Linked DNA regions of Homo sapiens: regions 1 and 2 are each linked to region 3. The links are contacts of gene promoters, found by promoter capture Hi-C in blood cells and fetal thymus (Javierre and others, 2016). All regions are on one chromosome and are shown on one strand. The core of a region is centred on a gene start or on the middle of the fragment in contact, and the rest is flanking DNA. Distances in the headings are between cores, read along the strand shown. Region 1 has its middle 14 kb from the start of SCYL3. Region 2 overlaps KIFAP3 (kinesin associated protein 3). Region 3 holds the start of FMO1 (flavin containing dimethylaniline monoxygenase 1).

Region 1 (3,916 bases), core at 795-3,294, 1.3 Mb before region 3:
CAAAGTGCTAGGATTACAGCTGTGAGCCACCGTGCCTGGCTATGATAATCATTTCACAATGTATCCATCTATCAAGTCATCACAGTGTACACCTTGAATACATACAATTTTTAATCTGTCCATTATATCTCAATAAAGCTGGAACACAACAATAAGATTCCTTCAGCCCAGGACTGGAAATAAAGAAGCTCTTAGAATGGTGATCATTAAAAAGTCAAGAAACAACAGGTGCTGGAGAGGATGTGGAGAAATAGGAACAGTTTTACACCGTTGGTGGGACTGCAAACTAGTTCAACCATTGTGGAAGACAGTGTGGCGATTCCTCAAGGATCTAGAACTAGAAATACCATTTGACCCAGCCATCCCATTACTGGGTATATACCCAAAGGATTATAAATCATTCTACAATAAAGACACATGCACACATATGTTTATTGAAGCACTATTCACAATAGCAAAGACTTGGAACCAACCCAAATGTCCAACAATGATAGACTGGATTAAGAAAATGTGGCACATATACACCATGGAATACTATGCAGCCATAAAAAAGGATGAGATCATGTCCTTTGTAGGGACATGGAGGAAGCTGGAAACCATCATTCTGAGCAAACTATCGCAAGGACAGAAAACCAAACACTGCATGTTCTCACTCACAGGTGGGAATTGAACAATGAGAACACTTGGACACAGGAAGGGGAACATTACACACCGGGGCCTGTTGTGGGGTGAGAGGAGGTGGGAGGGATAGCATTAGAGATATACCTAATGTAAATGACGAGTTGATGGGTGCAGCACACCAACATGGCACATGTATACATATGTAATGAACTTGCATGTTGTGCACATGTACCCTAGAACTTAAAGTATAATAAAAAATAAAAATAACAAACATTTTTAAAAGAATAAAAAGTATTTCTGCTTCTGGTAAAAAAAAAATAAAAGAAAAAAGAAAAAACCCTGACAGTTAAGCTAACCAAAAGGTGATGTTTCCTTGACTCACCCTCCTGGAGTCTAAGCCTTAGTGGGCAGCTCCATGTCCCACCTGGTGCAAGCTGTAATAGATATAATCTGAGGGGTTCAGCTTCATATTCATGTACTAGTGCAGTGCTGATTACACAGCAGACTTGAAACAGTAGTAAATTGTAGAGAAGAAGGAAAAAGAGCTGAACCTGTAAGAACTCACTCATCATTTCTGTCTCATTCTATTGGTAGAAGTGAGATACAAGGGAAGCCCAGTTTCAAAAAGTGAGGAAATAGAGTCCATCTTTTGATGAGAGGAGCTGGAGAATACCATGGTCACCTTTTTTAGTTACATATCTCCTTCTGCCACAGTTATTTACATCCCATCCACAAGCAAAATATGCTTACCTCCTCTGCCAAAAACCTCCTATCGTTATGGCATTAGGCTCTGGTTTAAAGTGTAGGATCTCATCATCAAAATCACATCCAGGCATGGATGAGGCTCTTTGGGAGTGGTGTTCAGGTTCTCTTCTAGTATGGCTCTTCTTGATCTAGAACCTGTGGACTGAAAGAAGGTACCTGCCATCTTGAACTCTCCACCCTTACCCAACATGCAACAGTGAGATGGACACAATAACCACAAAGGATACTCCCATGGAAACAGAGATGTGTAGTCATCTTGGGTTCATAGAAAATCTGAAATGGTGCCAGGAACATGTGCCAGTTCCCTTTACTCTAGGGCCAGGGAATGTTCCTTAGAGCTCATTTTTACTTCCTTTGAATAGTTTCATATTATACAATGGTGCTATAATTGTACAAGAGGTAATCCTGTAATAAATTCCATATGCTATATCACTCATAGTGGTTCTGTTTTTCTGATCAAACTCTGACTGATACAAGCCCAATTAAAAAGAGGTGCCCCCATTAGTCTCAGAATTTTCTTTAGTGGCATTACTTACTGGATTCTGGATCTTAGATCTGTGGATGATCCCTATCAGGTCAGGAAAGCTTCAGGAGCCACCAGTGGGATTTTGATGTAAGGGATTCCAGGGGATACAAACAAATTTATGCCCTTAGAAAAACAACCACTTTTGGTCCAGTTGGAGCTACTTGAGTTGGAAGGTCTTATGGGTCTGGTGCCTACATCGTAGCAACAAAGCTTCTAACTATATTTTGAAACAGATTAAACTGCGAACAGTCCAGAGTGATGGCTCAGATCTGGAGCGAATTAAAATATCAATCGTACTTTAAGGAAGGGGCCAAAATATTACACTCACAAGAAGGCGGCATGGCAGACACTGGGCCTCCACTATTCTGAAGGATGGCTGTGTCAACTGAGATCAAAGGGGAACCTGTGATAAGAGGAAAATACCCTGGTAGGATTTACAGTGGAAACACAAAGACTACTAGTGCGTCACGGATAGCAATGCCACCATAACCTGAAATAAAGTTAAATGCTAGGCTCTGCCTTCCCACCTACATGCCCTCAGAAAAGAAGGACCAAGCAAATTGGCACAATATATTTAGCTCCAGGTAGTTTCAATGCAGACAGTACAAGAAGCCAGGTGATTGGTGGGCTGCGGCTGATGGGCTGACTATATGGTCACATAGATGGAAACAAAATGCCTCGATAATTAGTGTAAACCCAGCTTGGGAAAAGTAACTATAGAAAGCCCTGCTGATGTATGTAGATACCAACTTGATGAGGGAGAGGTTTATAAATATATGAAATAGATGCTCTAACTTGAACCACAAGCCTATAAAAAGGAAAACTGGGACAATAGGGGTTATTTCCATCTCTGAATCCAATAGATTAGGGAATTAAATGAAGAATATAAAGAGGGTACTCCAACCACTTGGAGAGAATCTGAGGCACTTCCATACTGCATCAAGTGATGGTACACAACCAGATGCAGAAGAGGAAAATTACTTTTCAGAAAGGCTTGTGGGGTCCCTAATTGCATTCAGTTTTTCTTCTCCTTCCTCTAGCTGATGGGACTCAATGGATATATTCCCAAGGCAAAGAAGAAGCATTGCTAGGAGTTTTCCCTCCAATGAGGAAATGAGCTTGTCTGATAGGAGAGGATAGCTATTTAGGCTAGAATAAATACCTTCTATTAGTGTCAAACACTTATTTTGCAGGACTAGAGGCCTGATTACTCAGAGAGAGACTTGCATTAAAGAAATGGAAGTAGTACAGCTAGGTGTGGTGGTACGCACCTGTAGTCCCAGCTACTTTGGGAGGGTGAGGCAGGAGAATCGCTTGAACCCAGGAGGCGGAGCTTGCAGTGAGCCAAGATTGCGCCACTGCACTCCAGCTTGGGTGACAGAGGGAGACTTCATCTCAAAAAAAAAAAAAAAAAAAAAGCAAAAACAAAAAAACAAAAAGGAAGTAGTGGTGAAGGCAGAAACAGAAATAGGTAACTAAGAGACCAGATGACTCACATCTGGTGATGAACAAGCTAAGAAAAAAAGGCCTAAGATATAATGGACTAAAGTTATATTTACCCTTTGGTGACAATTTTGGCTACACTGTTACACTATATACACTATACTTTTAATTGTATTAGGGATGATGACAATATTTATGACCAGTTGTGCAACTCAACAGCCATTAGTGATTACCACTACGGCAGCTGGTTTTGTGTGTACTATATTGTGTGCTTGTAGGTACTCAGGATGGTAGCTTTTGCTGTTGCTACTTTTAGGTCAACCAATGTATCTGATGTGGAAGCAGAACCCCTGTGTCCTGTTGCCTGAACTACAAACAGTAATTGTAGTTACATTATAACATCAGCATCTGCCACATCTGCTGGAACAAATAATACAGATGTAGTATCTACTGGCACAAGAATTTCATGCTCACAACATCCTTGCTCTCCCATATAACCTGGACAGGAACCTATAACTAAGGAACCTATACCTAAACTATAAACAAGCACACAGCCATTTC
Region 2 (4,048 bases), core at 208-2,707, 1.3 Mb before region 3:
GCTGTTATAGGAAGAAACTTTCCAGGATATTATAAAACTGTATGAAATTACTTCTTCATAATTTTTTGGAATAGTTCATTCTTTTTATCAATTTCTCTAATATATTGATTATAGAATCAAAATCAGTATGTTTATCTTTCTAAGTAGATTGTTAATTGATCATCAGGGTAATTTCAGCTTAAGTATGATTTGTCATGGGAAATTTAGGTCTATTGTAATAGTGACTCTATATACCATTTGCCCATCCATCCACCTATCCAAATAGTAGAAACATTTATTGAGTTCCTACAATGTGGTTAAGTATAGTTTTTGAAGCCAAGGAAAAAACATGGTGCTGGGAAGGCAATAACAAATACGACATAGTCCTTGACTATAAGGATTGGAGGCACCTAACATGGAAGAAATATTCTGATAATAACCTGATGTCATCCTACTGTAGCATATGTATAAATTGCTACAGAAGAAAAGAGGGGGGATAAATATTTAATATAAGAGTATATTAGAGACATGTACAAATTGCTACAGGACAATCTTGGCAGCTAGAAAGTCTTCATACAAAATACTTTGATTTTAATGCATCTGTTACCTCCTGACATATTTTGTTATTGTATTTCTTTCCCATTAGAAAATAAACACCATGGAGGGCAAGGAGTGTTTTGGCCATTGCTATATCCCTAGGCTCTAGTATTGTATCTGACATGGAGTGGGCATTCAAAAATTACATGAATTCATGAATGAATTAGTCTTAAAAGTCAAGTAAGATCTCACAGGCAAAGAGAGACAGAATTCCTGATGGTGGAGCAGCCTGAGCAACAGAGAGGAGTGGCTGACGAAGAGCAAATGGTTTGTTATGGTTAAAGTTTTAGATTTATGATATAAGCAAATGGCAGGAGATAAGGCTAGAAAGGGAGGTTAGGACTAGATATTGAAGCTTTTCATAAACCTGCTAAGAACTGGTGGCTACTGGAGAGTTGTCAATGGTTGCTAAGAAAGAGAATGACCAAATTCTATGTTTTAGGAAGATAATTGTAGTAGGAAAGGGGGTTGAGAGGCAAAATCATGAACACTGAAGAACCTATTACAGCTGTCCAAATGTGAAGTAATGAGAACCTACAGAGGGGTACTGGCAGAAATAACAATGATCAAATATGCTACAATTCACAACAATGTTATCTTTTCTCTTTTTTTTTTCTTTGAGATGGAGTCTTGCTCTGTTGCCCAGGCTGGAGTGCAGTGGCGTGATCTTGGCTCACTGCAACCTCTGCCACCCAGGTTCAAGCAATTCTCCTGCCTCAGCCTCCAAATTAGCTGGGATTACAGGTGTGTGCCACCACACCCAGCTAATTTTTGTATATTTAGTAGAGACTGGGTTTCAGCATCTTGGCCAGGCTGGTCTTGAACTCCTGACCTCATGATCCACCCATTTTGGCCTCCCAAAGTGCTGGGATTACAGGCGTGAGCCACTGTGCCCGGACCATCTTTTCTCTTTTAAAATAGTTTTTTTAGGCCAGATGCTGTTGCTTATGCCTAAAATCCCAGCACTTTGGGAGGCTGAGGTAGGCGGGTTGCCTGAGCCCAGGAGTTCAAGACATGGCAAAACCTCATTTCTACAAAAATACAGAAAATTATGCAGGCATGGTGGTGCACACCCATGGTCCCAGCTACTCATGGGTTTGAAGCAGGAGGATCACTTGAGCCCAGGAGGTTGAGGCTGCAGTGAGCCATGACCGCCACTGCACTCCAGCCTGGGCAACAGAGTGAGTGAGACCCTGTCTCCAAAAAAAAAAAAAAAAAAAAAATTAAAGTTATACCTTTACGAGTTGGGGACTGAGACTAAAGGAGAAGAATTTGAAAACTGGCTGGAAATTTTAAAGGTTATATTTCATTGGAATGGAGCAAATTTTGCCCCCTTAGTATGGGGATATGCTTCATCAAATAACTGAGATGCTGTGGTATTCCATGGAGATGAAATCAGATTGTAGAAGAAGCTTGCCCCTATCTTCTACAGGGCTGAACTGTTCTTGGAAAAGAGAATATTTTCTCCTTGAAATTCTTACAATAAGAAGAGATGTGCAGGTTGAACGAAATAACGAGTATAAAACAATACCTAACACTAGTAAAATGATGTACTACTACATCGAGATCTAAATGTTTGTCATTTATAGACCAACCACTAGATGGAGAGCTTGTCTTACCACTGAGTATCAGGTACTTCTACAAAATTTCAAAGCAAGGATTATTAAATTTAAACTTCTCAGCACATTTAACATTCATAGAATGTGGCATCCATTGCTGTCGCAGATAATTAATGTCCAGTTTTATGATTATGAAATAATTTACAGCTAAATAGAAATACCTATCAGTTACATGCAAAAAAAGTTTTGTGAATGTTGGGTGCCTAAGAAAATAGATCATAAGAAAAGAGGTTATAAGAAAAGATGCTAATTGTCTTGAACACTGAAAAATGTAACATGCATGCATGTTAAAGTGCTATTACTATAACATAGCTTCTAAAATTTTTCATTGAACCAATATTAATGGCATCTTGTTTCTATAAATCTATATGTAATAAATATATATTTTAAGTTGCTCAAAGGTATTACTCATTTCTTTGGACTTGAACTTTTGTATTGTTGAGAAAATAAAATCCAAGAGCATGGTTAAGCAGTCTTCTAATGAGTTTCACCAGCATATATCAAGTTTAGTTGTCATTTCCCATTTAGTTTTATTCTTAATCTTTTATATGCATAATTATAAATTTTCCTTTTATTACAATAAAACTAAATGGCTACAGCATCTTAAAGAATCTTATTCTTAATGAATTCAAACTAGTATTTTTTTTCAAAAATCAAGGGCAAATTATATGAGTAGTGGGAGGCTGTATTTAAAATACTCATCTGGAGTTTATTAAAAACATTTTTTGAAGGACATCTGTCAGTTCTAAGGGTGAAAAACAGCACCTTGGGGAAAAATCCTTTCAATTTAGTTACTACACTGAGATACTTCAGATAAAAACTAATTTGTACTAATGATGAAGGGAACGTGTGTAAAATAGTTGCACTGATTTATTCTAAATGGTAAAGAAATTCCATTTCATTGACTCTCCTCTAATTTCATTCAAGTTATACTTTTCTTATACATCTCAATCTGTTGATTAACCTGCCTCCAGAGTAATATTTTAGTGATTATATTTTAATGTGGAGATGTTATACTTGGTACTTTTTGATACTATATCATTGCATTAAGTTTTCTATTCCTTTTTATTAATTTACTTTTTTATTACATTTTATATAGTCTAATTGAGATTCTTCTATTAACTCTAATTCTTGGGCATCCTAACACTCTTGCTGTTAGAGCGCTTGTCGTGTACTGTCATGTACTTTACAAAGCTTTAAAACAAGGCTTATCAAATTTAAACTCCATGGCATATTGAACATTGATAAAATGGGATTTCCATTACATTCTGATGATTCTCTTTCATGATGGTCCTTTTTATGTTTTCATTGAGATGGCTGTCCTAAAACAATCTAAATGGCAATTTCTTGACTAAGGTTCCCTGAATTAAGTATACGGTGTAAATTCTGAACCCACTCATGTGCATGAAACAAGCTTGTGACTTCTCTTTCACATGGGTGACTATCTTCCCCTACCTAGGGTCTTTGAGCACAGACAGGTTTTGGCCACTTCTCTGGGCTGGTGAATTAACATCATTTAGTCCTCTTTTCAACTGATGAGAAAAAATTGAAATTCCAGGCTTTATTTAGAGAATTCAGTTCCATCTTCCTTTACCAAATAACTCGTACCTAGTTCAATATTCCGGTTGGTGTTTTTTTGTCATTGGGGTATTCCCTATCTTTCTTATGAACTTAGTCATATAAATTTCTGTTACATTTTTGTCCACCATTTACATATTATCTGCATAGGAGTGGTCCCTTCCAAATTAGCTCAGTCTATCATCTTGCTGGAAGTCCTTTTCATTTTATTATTACTTCTTTTTTTTTTTTTTTTTTTTTTGAGGTGGAGTTTCACTCTTCTTGCCCAGGCTAGA
Region 3 (4,032 bases), core at 469-2,968:
CATCATCTGAGCAGTGTACACTATACCCAATGTGTAGTCTTTTATGCATCACCCCCCACTCCAACACTTACCCCCAAGTCCCCAAAGTCCATTGTATCATTTTTATGCCTTTGTATTCTCATAGCCTAGCTCCAACTTATGAGTGAGAACATAGAATGTTCAGTTTTCCACTCCCAAGTTACTTCACTTAGGATAATGGTCTGCAACTCCATCCAGGTTGCTGTGAATGCCATTATTTCATCCCTTTTTATGGCTGAGTAGTATTCCATGGTATGTATATACCACGAATTATTTATCCACTCATTGATTGATGGGCATTTTGGCTGGTTTCATTTTTTGCAATTGCAAATTGTGCTGCTATAAACAAGTGTGTTCAAGTATCTTTTTTGTATAATGACTCCTTTTCCTCATTTTCAAGACAGCATCAGCTGCGGTAGTATAGGGAGAATGCAAGATTGCCCTAAGGTCTCCTGGATAAGTATTCGTGTTTCTCAGGCTAATAGTCAAAACTATTACAAAGTTCAGCTGGAAGTTTCCTTCTCCCTGTGGTCCTTCCTCAATTTCACTGGCAGCCCTCCTCAAGGACCCCTGTGAGATAAAGTCAGAAATGACTTCCCTGGGCACCAAGAGTACCTACAGGGCTCTTCCCACTGCTTCTACTTTTATATTTCGTTTTGCTCTCTAAATTCATCCCAGCTCTAGGTAAGGTTAAATCCTTCTCCTGTGATCTGGATTTTTAGGTTCCCTAGTGGGTTTGCGTGTTTGGAGGCAGATTTTTTCCCCCACTCACACTTTGGGCACTCACAGTTTTTCAGCTGTCTCATGGAGTTTGCAGCGGCAAGCCACTTCTTTCAAAGGTCCTGTGAATTCTTTTGGTTTTCCTGGTATGTTCATGCAGTACTTCTTGGAGGAAAATTTCACTGTGTGAGTCTCCACATGCTGTTCTGTCTGTCTGCGTGGAAACTGCAAGTTAGTCCTGCCTCCTATCCACCATTTTCCAACAATCTGTCGTTAACCATTTCAAAGTATAGAATTCAGTGGCATTTAGTACATTCATAATGCTGTGTAACCACAACCTCTATCCAGTTTCAAAACACTTTCATCACACCCAAAAGAAAACTCCATACTCATTAGCAATCCTTCCCCATTCCCTTCTTTCCCCAGCCCCTGGCAGCCACTCGATCATGCCTATTTTAAATTGAGGAAACTAAAGCTGAGAAAAGTTATACAATTTTTCCAACATGACTCTGATAATAGCTGGTGAACGCAATACTCGAACCCAGGACTTGTGATTCCCAAGATCAGACTCCTCCCATATACCTGTCTTTTATTTCCCAAGTGCTTGGGCAATCAGCTGCACTTAAAAAGCCTTTACAAATTGAGTTTACTAATGTGAGTAATATATGATTTTTTAAAAATAATAATTGTCCCTAAAGGTGAAATGGATCAAAGCCCTTAAAAGTGAATCTGTGGTGTAGTAACTGTTAACATAATTGTCTTATTTTATTCTCATCCCCTTAAAGAATAAAACTGATGAACAAGTGAGGATGCTGGTGTAACTCCCTAACTTAGTTTATAGTCTGTAAGCAGAAGAGTGAGTCTAAAGTACATATCACCAGACAGTGTTTCTCCTAGCATTTCGCTGTTGCATTAATCAACAAGTTAAAATATAAACAACGGCTAACCTTGGGTTTCAAATTTAACATTCCTTATCTCTTAGACCAGGTTTATCCACTGTGCTGGGGACTCCCAAGCCAGCACTGGCTCATACTGATTCATTTTGATCTCTGCTAATACCAGAGTCCTGCGTGGCAGAGCCATTGGCACCAGAAATTACAAGTACGTAAAGTAAGTAACCAGATATAATCTCTGATTTCTTTGGATGAGGAAAGTGGGGTCTGGAGTTTTCCTGTTTTGTTATTGTGCTCCAGGGAAGAACCACCTTATCAGAAAGCAGCTTTCTCTGTCCAACCCTGGAGGAGCTATAAAGCTACTCCTTGGCCCAAAGTATAGGAGTAGTAAATGTTTGGATACTTATAATGGGACAATATCATTGATTCAACCACTTAATAATCTACCCAGCAGTATACTTACCTGTCTTCCATGTACACAGGTAAGTATACTGTTGGGTAGATTATTAAGTGGTTGAATCAAATGGGAAAAACTTGGATTTCTAATGCAAGAGGAAAAGTCTCTTTTTTTTTTTAGTGCTTCCATCAGCAGCTTCTAACATTGTCTGAGATCATAGTTTTTGAAGGGTGACTACCAAATGTTGGCATTTGGCACAAGTGGGAAGCAAAAGGCAAGCCCCTTTAGAATTTGACTAATCTGTTCTGTCATGTCATCTTTTTTTCTGTTGTTAAAAGTGTTTCGTGCTTCATTCTATGTATTATGTCAAAATTTATTGATTTCCATGTGATTGGCACATCTTTTTTACTAATCCTGCTCCAGTTAAATTCACAAGATCATAAACATCAAGGGTTTGAAAATCATTTTTAGATATTCAGGTCTATGCCATCTGTTCTGCAGATGGAGAAACTGAGTCCTTGGTTATTAGAGTTTCCCCTGCATCCTAGGGAATCTGCTATGGCCTTGTAACTGGCACAGAGGACCTAAAGCCTGGGAGAATTTTTATTTGCTTGTTGTGGTTAGGAACATTTGAGTAAATGAGGAGCTGCTGCTAGAGGACAGAAATCCCAGAGTATGGCCCTCCTTGGACCCAAGTTTCTTACCAGCTGTGCTCCTTTGTTCCCAGGGGCTAAGTAGGCACCTTCACCCACCCCAACTGCCATCCAGCTGAATCTCTCTCTGATTACTCCTGAAATGTCACAACCCACTTGAGGATAGGGTATCATTGTGCAGTCTGTGCCAACCAGTATTCTGAAGTATTTTCATGCACTAAGGTGTAGGAGTGTGTGTGTGTGTGTATGTGTGTGTGTGAGAGAGAGAGACAGAGGGAGTAGGGAAGGAGGAGAAGATGGGGAATGCATAAATAGAGGGCTGGATACAAATCTGACAGTGCCAATGGCTTCCTAGTAAATGCATAGGTGAGTCACACTGGAAACAGTTAAACATTGGCTAATTGATACAATGCTAGCCTCAAATATAGTATAATATGCATTTTCTTGACATCAACAAATAAAATCTCCGGGTCAATAAAATAAACTCGGAAAATAAAACTCTTGCCCAGAAGTTTTCAACTTTCTAGGTTCAAGGAGCCCTTGGTGTGCAATTTCTTCAAGGTGCCCCCAGACCATAGTTTCTCCTATTAAGTAGACAAAAACTTAATAACTATTTATGTTCTAACAACTTTGTAGTTTTTTGAACAAGTAATATACAAACTAAAAGAAAAATAATATTTTTATTTCATTCTTAATCCCAATTACTTAATAATAAGGTTTATGTGCCTGCTGAGCACTGCACAACTTCTCAAACCTTGGAATCAGATCAGACATGAACCCTTCATTTCTATTCTACCTCAGTTTTCATGCAATACTTGCTTTTTGTCATAGCAATTGTCAAACACCCAGCTTTGCAAAGATATGATGTCAGCAAATGGAACACAGTCTTTTACAATATTAAAACTGTTAACTACTTTCAGCTAATACTTAGCATAGTGTTCAACTGACATCAAGAATCACTGTGCTTCTTCAAAATTTTAAAATAGCTCAGAGTGCCGCTGCAGTTTGGTAATGACAGGCGTCACCTCATGTTTTGACCTCTCATGATCTACTGTCCTACTAAACCAAAGCGGACACTCAATCTGACTTCAGTAAATTATATATTTGCATTTTACAACTTTCAAGAAGAGGAAGCAGTATAAAATTCACAAAAAAGCATAGTAGTTTCTAACCCTGTAGTTAAAAATCAGTCACTTTTATACAACCAATAGCGATTTCCCAACTCATTTAGTAATTTTATGTTGCTTAAGTTATTTTACTTGTTTTTTTCACTCAATTTTCACCCATTGGCATCTACCTTCCTAATTTAGTCCTATTTTCTTATTTTTATCTCTTATTTATTTTATATTTA

What was found. Contacts are between HindIII fragments. The CHiCAGO score rates a contact against its expected background, and 5 or more counts as called.
Region 1: a contact is called between a fragment that was not itself captured here and the fragment with the promoter of FMO1 in region 3, in 1 of 17 cell types (M1 macrophages). The highest score is 7.7, in M1 macrophages.
Region 2: a fragment that was not itself captured here is called in contact with the fragment with the promoter of FMO1 in region 3 in 1 of 17 cell types (total B cells); the score reaches 5.5 in total B cells.

What each region holds. Positions count from the first base shown.
Region 1 is chr1:169,905,477-169,909,392 of GRCh38, forward strand. No RefSeq gene overlaps it. Among named protein-coding and RNA genes, the nearest start is that of SCYL3, 14 kb to the left of the region's middle. The HindIII fragment of the contact is 151 bases long and covers 1,970-2,120 here.
Region 2 is chr1:169,926,923-169,930,970 of GRCh38, forward strand. The region is part of intron 19 of KIFAP3 (kinesin associated protein 3); the gene reads right to left. Among named protein-coding and RNA genes, the nearest start is that of SCYL3, 35 kb to the left of the region's middle. The HindIII fragment of the contact is 1,057 bases long and covers 930-1,986 here.
Region 3 is chr1:171,246,776-171,250,807 of GRCh38, forward strand. FMO1 (flavin containing dimethylaniline monoxygenase 1) reads left to right here and starts at 1,719. Exons shown (of 9, transcript NM_001282693.2): 1 at 1,719-1,848. FMO1-AS1 (FMO1 antisense RNA 1) reads right to left here. Exons shown (of 5, transcript XR_922278.4): 2 at 806-952. The HindIII fragment of the contact is 5,013 bases long and covers 1-4,032 here.